Regions from separate parts of the Homo sapiens genome. Here all the other regions are linked to region 1. Evidence: promoter capture Hi-C in human tissues and cell types (Jung and others, 2019). All regions are on one chromosome and are shown on one strand. The core of a region is centred on a gene start or on the middle of the fragment in contact, and the rest is flanking DNA. Distances in the headings are between cores, read along the strand shown.

Region 1 (3,651 bases), core at 592-3,091:
TCCTTTGTTGCTTTGACGCTGTCACTTCTTTTCTTAGGTACCTCTCTGTAGGGCTCCATTATTCCAGGGATTCCAGAGTTACAGCACATGCATACCTCCATCCAAGCATGTTTATTTGTCTCCTGCTTCACTAGGCTGTCCCCAAGGAACATGTGGCTCCCGGCACATACCTGGCACAACACTGCACATGACATTCACCCACTTGGCCTTGAATCTGACAAGGAATCTGGCATGATGTTCACCTGCTGAGGCCAGGTGCCGAGCAGCCCTGGAGGCTTAGGGGCCAGAGGGATGGGAAAAGGTGTCTTTCTGGGGTGAGTATCAGTTTCTGCAGGAGTGCTGAACCTGAGAAAGAATAAAGAGAGAAGGAAGTGAACAAGCACAGCTTAAACATCATCTGTTTCTACTGAGTTTTAACAACTCTGAGATTTTGTTTGTCATGGAATCCATTTCTCAGGCCAAGCAGACACAGAACTTGGGTGTGAGTGATGATAATGAGCTGATATAATTTTCACACCCTCATCACTGAGATCTCTCCCATCAGGAATGGGTCACAGGGCTCACAGGTGGCAGCAACTGTTATTACAGGCCTCATCTCTACCAGCTCCTGGCACCTGCTCTCCTCCCATTAGAAAATCCTCCACTTGTCAAAAAGGAAGCCATTTGCTTTGAATTCCAATTCCACCCTCAAGAGGCTGGGACCACCTCATTGGAGTCCTTGATGCTGTGTGACCTGCAGTGACCACTGCCCCATTGTTGCTGGCTGAGGTGGTTTGGGTCAACCTGGCCATCTGGGCAGCTGTTCTCTTCTCTTCTTTCTCCCCTACTGTTTCCAGACATGCAGTATTTCCAGAGAGAAGGGGCCACTCTTTGGCAAAGAACCTGTCTAACTTTCTATCTACGGCAGGACTTTTGAAAGCTACAGAGGAAGAAGCACAAATTGATGCTATTCCACTAAGCCATCAGCTCCATCTCATCCATGCCATGTCTCTTTTTTAGGGGTCCTCTTGCCAACAGAATCACAGAGGACAAATCTGAAAGTGCAGAGACAGCAGCTGAGGCACAGCCAAGAGCTCTGGCTGTATTAATGACCTAAGAAGATGGAGTGGTCACCAGAAAGTCAGAGGAAGTGACACACAGGGGCCCAGCAATCTCAGCCAAGTCAACTCCACCAGCCTTTCTGGTCCCCACTGTGTGTACAGCACCCTGATAGGGACCAGAGCCATGAGAGTGAGTAAGACCAGACTATGCCCTTGAGGAGCTCACCTCTGCTAAGGGAAACAGGCCTGGAAACACACAATGGTGGTAAAGAGGAAAGAAGACAATAGAACTGCATGAAGGGGATGGAAAGTGCCCAGGGGAGGAAATGGTTACTTCTGTGTGAGGGGGTTGGTGAGGAAAGACTCTAAGAGAAGGCTCTGTCTGGCTGGGTATGAAAGGATGTGTAGGAGTCTTCTAGGGGGCACAGGCACACTCCAGGCATAGGTAAAGATCTGTAGGCATGGCTTGTTGGGATGAGTTTCAAGTATTCTGGAATGAGGACAGCCATAGAGACAAGAGGAGAGTTAATAGATTTTATGCCAATGGCTCCACTTGAGTTTGTGATAAGAACCCAGAACCCTTGGACTCCCCAGTAACATTGATTGAGTTGTGTATGATTCTACATAGAATATTAACTCAATGGAGGTCAGTGAGTGGTGTGTGTGTGATTATTTGCCAACTGCCGAGGTGGAGAAGCCTCTTCCGACTGCAGGCAGAGCACGGGGGCCCTGCTACTGGCTGCAGCTCCAGCCCTGCCTCCTTCTCCAGCATATAAACAATCCAACAGCCTCACTGAATCACTGCTGTGCAGGGCAGGAAAGCTCCACACACACAGCCCAGCAAACAGCAGCACGCTGCTGAAAAAAAGACTCAGAGGAGAGAGATAAGGAAGGAAAGTAGTGATGGATCTCATCCCAAACTTGGCCGTGGAAACCTGGCTTCTCCTGGCTGTCAGCCTGATACTCCTCTATCTGTGAGTAACTGTTCAGGCTCCTCTTCTCTGTTTCCTTGGACTTGGGGTGCTAATCAGGCCTCTCTTTCCCTTATCTGTTTTGAATAGCAAAAAGGATGTTCAGGCTGGCCGTGGTGGCTCACACCTGTCATCCCAGAACTTTGGGATGCTGAGCAGGTGGACTGCCTGAGGTCAGGAGTTCAAGACCAGCCTGGCTAATATGGTGAAACCCCATCTCTACTAAAATTACAAAAATTAGCTGGGCATGGTAGTGCATAACTGTAGTCCCAGCTACTTGGGTGGCTGAGGCAGGAGAATTGCTTGAACCTGGGAGGCGGAGGTTGCAGTGAACTGAGATCATGCCACTGCACTCCAGCCTGGGTAACAGAGTGAGATTCCATCTCAAAAAAAAAAAAAGAGAAAAAAAAGAAAAAAAAAGATTTTCAAGGAGAAGTAGCTTAAGTGTTGGATGCTACAAACATATAGAGGTTATGATGGATGTTTTGCAGATCTATAAAGGAATAAATAAGCATCTCCCCCATTCATCTTTAGTGGAAAGAAGGGTTTAGGGACAGCATTGATTGAGGATAATCTAATAGACAATGGTTTGTACCCAGCTTACCAAACCAGAATTTGGATTTTACATTTTTCCCTTTAAGTTGCAGGAGAAGAGGGTGAATCTTCTCACCAGTGAGATCCTGGCATCCTAGAGCAGGTGGAGAGAAGAGTCACTCCCTACTGTGTGTACTGGAGGCTTCCCGCCTGTCACATTTTACTTCTAACTCAATTTCACAGTTATTAAGAGTAAGGAATCATGGTCACATGGAAACAGAAAATACAAACCTCGTTTTAATTCTTTCACAGAAAAGTTAGCAATTCAGTGAGTTGTGGTAACATAGTTTCCATCTACTGGCAATTTAACATGAATTGGTGTGGCTTAAATTCATCCTTTTTAAAGCCAGATTTTTTTGGAGATAGACTATTTCCAGCATGTTCCTTCTGAGTGATAAAAGAGGGCTATTAGTTCAGTATTTGTGACAATAAATGTGTATAAGATAACCTCACCTTTCCAGAATAATGTCAGGAATATGAGTCTAATGTACAAATATATATCTCTAGGACAAGACTGCATATGTCTTTTTAAAAATACTTTCCCAAGAGTTTATTTTAATACCCCCATTTCAAATACACCTGCTTAGCAGGTTATCCTAAACTCTCAGGGCTAGAAAGTAAGCAAGACTGTGAGCCAGTGATGATAGCAAAAGCATCCAGGTAGGATCAAGATGAAGTGAGAAAATATTCCTTACCCCTCAGGGTAGAACTCCAAATAGATATTCATGGGTCCTGGCCCCCTAGTGGAGGTCACTTGAAGGACAAACATGTTGGCATCTCATCTGCTTGAAGCCTGGACACAAGGGCACCATCAGTGTCACTCTGTGTGTGGCTGGCCATGTTGTGGGGCTGTCACTACAGATTCTGGCAGTCAGGCAGACAATACCTTAGCCTTAGACGATGCCGGTACAGCCCAGGATTCAGAAGCTATAGTGTAGACCATGCCCTTCTTAGGCCTATACAATTACATGCAATAGATGATGGATTTTTCTGTTAGCCTCTTCATTGTAACAAAAAGCAGCATTACTCTACCAAACAGAGGGGAG
Region 2 (3,768 bases), core at 253-2,752, 88 kb after region 1:
ACAGCTACTCAGGATTACCTTGCAAGTTTTAACCTATAAAAATTTAACTTTATATAGCACTTCCAAAATAGTTTGCCATAATACCTACTAATCTGGATTTAATTTTTAAAACTCATCCTTTTAACTTAAGATTTAAATAAAAAAAAAAAAACACGAGTCCACAAGAATTTGTCTCAGGCCTGGCACAGAGTCAGTGCTCCATAAATATTTTGTTAAACGATGGATGGTGAGTGCTTTTACTATCCAGTATTTACCCAGCTTATAGATTAAGTATGAAGAGTTCAAGATACATGGTGTTAAGAGTCGTTTTTATATGCTTGCAAAGCATTTTTGTCATATTTTTTCTACTTTGCTTCCATCTTTTCTTCTTTCACTTCATTTATTAATTCTCCATATGCTTGTTTAACTATTGTAGATCCCCTTGAAATTAGACACGCAAGGACTTCTTCAACCAGAAAAACCCATTGTTCTAAAGGTGGATTCAAGAGATGGAACCCTAAGTGGAGAATGAGTTATTCTAAGGATTTCTACTTTGGTCTTCAAGAAAGCTGTGCCCCAGAACACCAGAGATTTCAACTTAGTCAATAAAACCTTGAAATAAAGATGGGCTTAATCTAATGTACTGCATGAGTAGTTGGTGATTTTGTACATTCATTGAGCTCTCCCAGAGTCTGTGTAGAGTGTTGTGCATTATGTAGTATAAAGGAGGTGACCAGGTAAGTGACAGATAGGTAGACTCAGCTTCTCTGCTTCTCATAGGACTACCTCTACCCACCTCTAGTTAGCATTATCAACTCCTCCTGAGCTCTCATCAGAGAATAAATATTTCTCAACAATTTGATCCATAACTTTTAAGAAAAATAAGAATTATCATGATGACTCTAATAGTGACATTTATATCACGTTTTATTTGTAATATTCTATAAGTTTTATATTAAGCGAAGTGATAAAATCCCCTTTACAAAAATATTATCTGATGCCATCCTGCACACTAAAGAGAAATCTATAGAACTGAATGACTGAAAACCAGCAAATAAACATTTTTTATCATTGTAATCACTGTTGGTGTGGGGCCTTTGTCAGAATTCCAATTTGATTATTAACATAGGTGAGAGTTAATCTGCTGTGACTTTGCCCATTGTTTGGAGAAAATATTCATAGTTTCATTCTGCCTTCTTTGAAGAACATATTTTTTGTAACACTCAACGAAGCACTTATCATATTATTAGTTATGATTTATTATTTTTACCACATCTCCCCTGACATTTCTGGAACACAGGAAACATGTTTTCTTATACGTCTTGCATTCCATCTTCACCTCCCAATTGTCTTAATGCAATGAACACTGAATAAAAAATTGTCAATTCGTCAGTTGATTGGGCAGCATGTCTAAAAGCACTATTCATTTTCCTTTTTTATTCTTTCATTTTCCCTCCTTTTCTGAATACTAAAGCCATTAGGTGGGTTGCAGCCATGTGGTAGCCACACATTAAGGTGGACAAGAGAGTCATGGTGGCTCCAAGTCAGATTCCAAGTGTGCTGGGGAAGGCATCCACATGGAGGGGCAGCCTGACCTGGAAGCGGGAGCCCAAGCAATCAGAGAAGGGGTCCACACAGAGGTGTGGCCTTCAAGAGCAGCCAGAGCCTAAATAGGGCCTGGAGAACCCACGTGAGGTGAGGAGGGTATCCCTGAGTGGGAAGGGATGGGTGAGAGTTGGCTACATAGAAGGGATTGATCACATAAGTAAATAAAGTATACTGGAAGCTAGGTGTGTCACTTTTGCAGAAAAGAGTCATAGATTCAGAAAGGGAGAAAGCTAGCATTAATCCTATGGTGTTAGATTGGAATGGATGTATCAGTGTACATTCATACTTTTCTAGATAGATAGATGGATAGATAGACAGATGATAGATAGATAATAGATAGTTGATAGATAATTAGATGTAAATATATGTGTTTGTATGTGTGAGCATGCATGTGTGTGTGTGTGTGTGTGTGTGTGTGTGTGTGTGTGTGTATAAAACATATATTCCCTACTTCACTGATAGGGCTAGATAACAATGACATTTCAATAGCAATGAGTATACTTAGTGCCTAGATCTTGGCTTATGAATATCATTTTCCACTGAAGGGAACCAGAGCTCGTTAGAGAAATAGCTGATGCCAGGGCTAGGACTAAAAATGTTCAAGATGAGCCCAGGACACTTTTTGTGCCAGGAAGTAAGAAAACACTCAAATGGTTTCTAAATGGTATTTGGAAATGATTTCTAAATGATATTTCCATATGACTTCCAAATGATATTTTAAAAACCTAAAGACTCCACCAAAGAACTATTAGAACTGATAAACAAATTCAGTAAATTTGCAGGATACAAAATCAACGTACAAAATTGGTAGCACTTCTATATGCCAGCAAGGAACAATCTGAAATAAAATCAATAGCCACAAATAAAATTAAATACCTAGGAATTAACTTAATCAAAGAAGTGAAAGATCTCTACAATGAAAACTATAAAACACCGATGAAAGAAATTGAAGAGGACACAAAAACATAGAAAGATATTCCATGTTTATATATTTCAAGAATCAATATTGTTAAAAATGCCCACAATACCCAAAGCAATATATGGATTCAATGCAATCCCTATCAAAATACCAATGACATTCTTCACAGAAATATTTTTTTAATCCTAAAATTTGTATGGATTCACAAAAGACCAAGAAGAGCCAAAGCTAACATCAGCAAAAAGAACAAAACTGGAGGAAACACATTTACCTGACTTCAAAGTATACTACAGAGCTATAGTAACCAAAACAGCCTGGTACTGGTATAAAAACAGACACATAGACCAATGGAACAGAATAGAGACCCCAGTAACAAATCTACACATCTACAGTGAACTCATTTTTGACAAAGGTGCCAAGAACACAGACTGGGGAAAAGAAATGCAAACTATACATCCAACAAAGGTCTAATAGCCAACATCTATAAAGAACTTAAATGTACAAGAAAAAAAAATTAAAAAATGGGCAATGGACATGAACAGACATTTTTCAAAAGAAGACATACATGTGGACGACAATCATATAAAAAAAAAGCTTAACATCACTGATTACTAGAGAAGTGCAAATCAAAACCACAATAAGATACCATCTAACACCAGTCAGAATGGCTATTAATAAAGAGTCAAAAAATAACAGGTGTGGCAAGGTTGTGGAGAAAAATAAACACTTATACACTGTCGGTGGGAGTGTGAATTAGTTCAACCATTATGGAAAATAGTGTGGCAATTCCTCAAAGATCTAAAGACAGAAATACCATTTGGCCCAGCAATCCCATTACTGGGTATATATCCAGAGGAATATAAATCATAAAGACACATGCACACATATGTTCACTGCAGTACTACTCACAATAGCAAAGATATGAAATTAACCTAAACACCCATCAATTACGGACTGAATAAAGAAAATGTGGTACATATACACCATGGGATACTATGCAGCCATAAAAAGGAACGAGATCAGCTGAGCATAGTGGCTCACGCCTGTAATCCCAGCACTTTCAGAAGCCGAGGTGGGCAGATAACGAGGTCAGGAGATCGAGACTATCCTGGCCAACATGGTGAAACCCCATCTCTACTAAAAATACAAAAATTAGCTGCATGTGGTGGCACTCACCTGTAATCTCAGCTACTCGGGAGGCTGAGGCACGAGAATCGCTTGAACCCAGGAGGCGGAGGTTGCAGTGAGCCAAGATCGCGCCA
Region 3 (3,477 bases), core at 612-3,111, 130 kb before region 1:
GGTTGAAAAGATGCACAGCTTGTATGAAGCAGCGAAGCAGTGCTCCTGGAAGATAAGGTCAAATGGTCAGGATGGCCTTGGACTGTAAGTATCTTTTCTATCTGGCAGAAATGCCTTAAATTAGTGATTCCCAACATTGGCTTCACATGAGGACCAATGGGAGAGCTTTTAAAGCCACAACTCTGGGCAAATTAGTTTAGAATTTGTGAGATGATCCAGGCATCATGAATTTTTGAAGCTCCCCAGTGATTCCAATGTACAGCTAGTGGTTGAGAAACACTGTCATGAGAAAGCTTCTGCAAGTTCTAGTGAGTTCTAGTGGAGGAGAGCACCATTCGAAAGTCCTGACAAAGTAATCATTGCACTTCATGATTGTGCAAAAGACTTCCTCATCTTTACAGTTGACATGAAACTGAATTTAAAATTTGCTCAAGTTCACAGAGACTGAACATAATTATACCATGCTAATCTATATTGACATTAGATGATCTTTATAGTTCTGTCTTTACAAAGCCACAGATTTTGAACTCCAGAAGTGATTCATCTTTAAGCATTATGGATAGCTCCAATTAGATTCTTTGTCCTACAGAGCAAATTATTGAAAAATGAACAATAATTTTTAAAAAATGTAGACTTCTCAGTTTAAAAAACTCCCAATAAACATTATTTATAAGAAAGTTTACTGACCTGAGTCTCTTTACAAGGTTTGAAGGAGAAGTTCTGCAGTGCTCTAATGACAGCAAGTTTTATGTTTGTGAGAGCAAACCTCATGCCAATGCAGTTTCGGGGTCCAGCTCCAAAAGGTATGTATCTGTAAAGATCTATGCTGTCCTTGTTCTTCTTACTGAACCTACTTTCACAGTAGTACATAAAAACTAGTTAATGAAACATAAAAACTATTAAAACTACACGTTATGCAGGGTGTGGTGGCTTTTGGGAGGCGAGGACCTCCTTGGCCTCCCAAAGTGTTGGGATTACAGGTGTTAGCCACCACACCTGGCCGGCTATACAATTTTTGAAGGTTAAACCCATGTTTATTCAAATTTGATTCCTCAATATTTGATTATATTGTGAAAAAATTTTGATGGAGGAAAGTGATAATGCCCTTGTGGTTATGTGTTTTTAAAAGACTACTTATATTTTAGAGAAAATTCTGAAATATTTACAGGTTATTTCTTCAAGATAACATTGTAGTCACAGAGAGGATTGTGGTGGTGTGTGGACAGGGAAGCTGACATGCAGCATTGACTACTGAGACAGGTGATGAACACAGGGGGATGCATTAATACTGTTCTATAGCCTGGTGTCTATAGAATATAGTTATGTGTATGTCAAACATTCTTCACAACAGACTTTTTTTAGTATATGGATTTCTCACTGCCTGGCCCAGTTCCTGACACACGGTAACCACTTACTATCTGTTTGGTGACTGAATGATGCAAAGAGAAGTACAATGAGTGGTCTCTGATTTTGTGTTGGTGCAGCCACAGGAGGTGGAAGTGCCAAGATGGAGGAAACACAGAAGTCCTCTACTCCAGAAAACAGAGAAATTGGTCAATTCTGACTTGCTCTTCCAACAAGTATTATGTACAGAGTCTGTGCCAGCAGTAGAGACAGCATGCCTAACAAGACAAGGTCCCTGCCATTGGGAAGTTTATAGTTAGGGGCCAATAAAAGTCTAGATCCCAGGCCTCACCAGCCAGTGCCCTACAAAGTTCATTCCAAATTTTCCTTTCCAAAATGGGAAAATATCAACTATTTCCAGAGTGCAAATTGTGCCCAAAGCTTGACCTTGGCTCTGAATTCCCAGAATATCATGCCCAACACTTCCAAGGAAGAACTTCTGAGAAGTCTAGAAAGCAGGTGACTTTGCTTTGGAAGAGTCATCAACAACTGAGAGTACAAGGGAGCCGGCACAGGACTGCAGACACAAACAGGACCAGGAGAACCTCTGCTTCCCTCTGTCCTCAATGAAGTGGCTTAAACCATCAGGGATGAGGATGTCTCAGGATCTCAGCCTGCACTTTCACAGTTACATTACGGAAAACAGCAAGCAATGTTGAAAGAAAAAGGAATGTGGAAACATGTCCTAAACGTGGTGCTAAATTCAGAGAGCTAAAGGGCACAGCAAAGAAAAACTGAAATGAATAACAAGCTTATATACTCAAAATAACATTATGGTGAAATGAATTATAGCTTATGCATATAGAAATATGTAGTAACGTAAGATAGTAGATAGGTAATGGTTTACTTTGAAATGAAGTAAGCAGCAGTTCAAACTCAAATAAAATGTGATAGTATACTAGTTTTTAAAAATGTCTATGCATAGAAAAATGCCTACAAGACAGGCATTACATAGTTAATGAGGGTTGTTATAAGGTGTTTCTTAATCTATGGTTTGTAAAGTTTAACAGTTATCATTTTGTAATAAAAAACTTCCAAAATGAAAAGGCACATATTCAAATGATTGCCATGTGCATCGAGAGAGGCAGAATATACTTGAATCAGGCTGGTTGAGGGAAGGCTCCTTTCCCAGGGGCCTTGTACCTTTCAGGGCAGAACTTCTCAGGCTCTGTCCAGTACTTTGGGTCATGGTGAAGAGCATAGATTGGAACCATCACTGCTAACCCTTTGGGAATGAACACTCCATTGATTTCAATATCTTTCTTGCAGACTCTCGTAACTCTACTAACAACTGGGAATAATCTGAGCGTTTCATTCACCACCATGTCAAGGTACTCCATCTGTACCAGGGCATCGTAGGTGACAGGTGCCTGGGAAGAAAGAAACAGATTTGGATAAATTGAGATTGGGAATTAACTTTCAACTTAGTCCATGCAGTACTATTGAAGTGTTAGGAGCTCCAGAGAATAATTCATTCTGGTAAAAGATTGTTGCATTTATAAATTATTTTAATAATTCTCCATACCCAGTGATGTGCTCGATGGCCCATTGAGATGTGTGGAGGAGTTATGAATTTGGCACAATCACTTACACAGAGACTGAAATCCTTGACATTACCATTTCGTGTTTTTTCTTTCTTGGGAGAACAAACATGACTAATAGACGATGGCCATTTGAATCACCTAAAATATGCCAAAGCCAGTGTCACCTTTCCAAAGAGAGGCTATGCATCTGTACCAAGGAAAAAGAAAATGTAAAAAGCAAATCCTCTATTTCATACAAGCATTTAAAATGGAAAAGTCCTGTTTAGGCCAGGCATGGTGGCTCATGCCTATAATCCCAACACTTTGGGAGGCCAAGGTGGGTGGATCACTTGAGGTCAGGAGTTTGAGACCAGCCTGGCCAACATGGTGAAACCCTGTGTCTACTAAAACTATAAAAATTAGCCGGGCATAGTAGCGCACGCCTGTAATCCCAGCTACTCAGGTGGCTGAGGCACGAGAATCACTTGAACCCTGGAGGCGGAGGTAGCAGTGAGCCGAGATCACCCCACTGCAGTCCAGCCTGGGCGAC

The links. The method cuts DNA at HindIII sites, captures the fragments that hold promoters and counts their contacts. A contact is called where the count stands out against the background at its distance.
Region 2: a fragment that was not itself captured here is called in contact with the fragment with the promoter of CYP3A7 in region 1 in 2 of the 25 tissues and cell types used here (mesendoderm cells and ovary).
Region 3: a contact is called between a fragment that was not itself captured here and the fragment with the promoter of CYP3A7 in region 1, in 2 of the 25 tissues and cell types used here (dorsolateral prefrontal cortex and pancreas).

What each region holds. Positions count from the first base shown.
Region 1 is chr7:99,733,386-99,737,036 of GRCh38, reverse strand. It overlaps CYP3A7 (cytochrome P450 family 3 subfamily A member 7), which reads left to right and starts at 1,841. Exons shown (of 13, transcript NM_000765.5): 1 at 1,841-2,014. The coding sequence starts at 1,944. It overlaps CYP3A7-CYP3A51P (CYP3A7-CYP3A51P readthrough), which reads left to right and starts at 1,841. Exons shown (of 15, transcript NM_001256497.3): 1 at 1,841-2,014. The coding sequence starts at 1,944. It also overlaps a transcript of ZSCAN25 not described here. RefSeq lists enhancers at 373-384, 1-681, 1,666-1,696 and promoters at 1,702-1,944, 1-1,944. The HindIII fragment of the contact is 8,535 bases long and covers 1-3,651 here.
Region 2 is chr7:99,645,048-99,648,815 of GRCh38, reverse strand. It overlaps CYP3A5 (cytochrome P450 family 3 subfamily A member 5), which reads left to right. Exons shown (of 13, transcript NM_000777.5): 13 at 416-622. The coding sequence ends at 511. It also overlaps a transcript of ZSCAN25 not described here. Among named protein-coding and RNA genes, the nearest start is that of ZSCAN25, 30 kb to the right of the region's middle. The HindIII fragment of the contact is 7,540 bases long and covers 1-3,768 here.
Region 3 is chr7:99,860,910-99,864,386 of GRCh38, reverse strand. CYP3A43 (cytochrome P450 family 3 subfamily A member 43) reads right to left here. Exons shown (of 13, transcript NM_057095.3): 11 at 2,548-2,774; 12 at 688-850. Among named protein-coding and RNA genes, the nearest start is that of OR2AE1, 14 kb to the left of the region's middle. The HindIII fragment of the contact is 4,373 bases long and covers 1-3,477 here.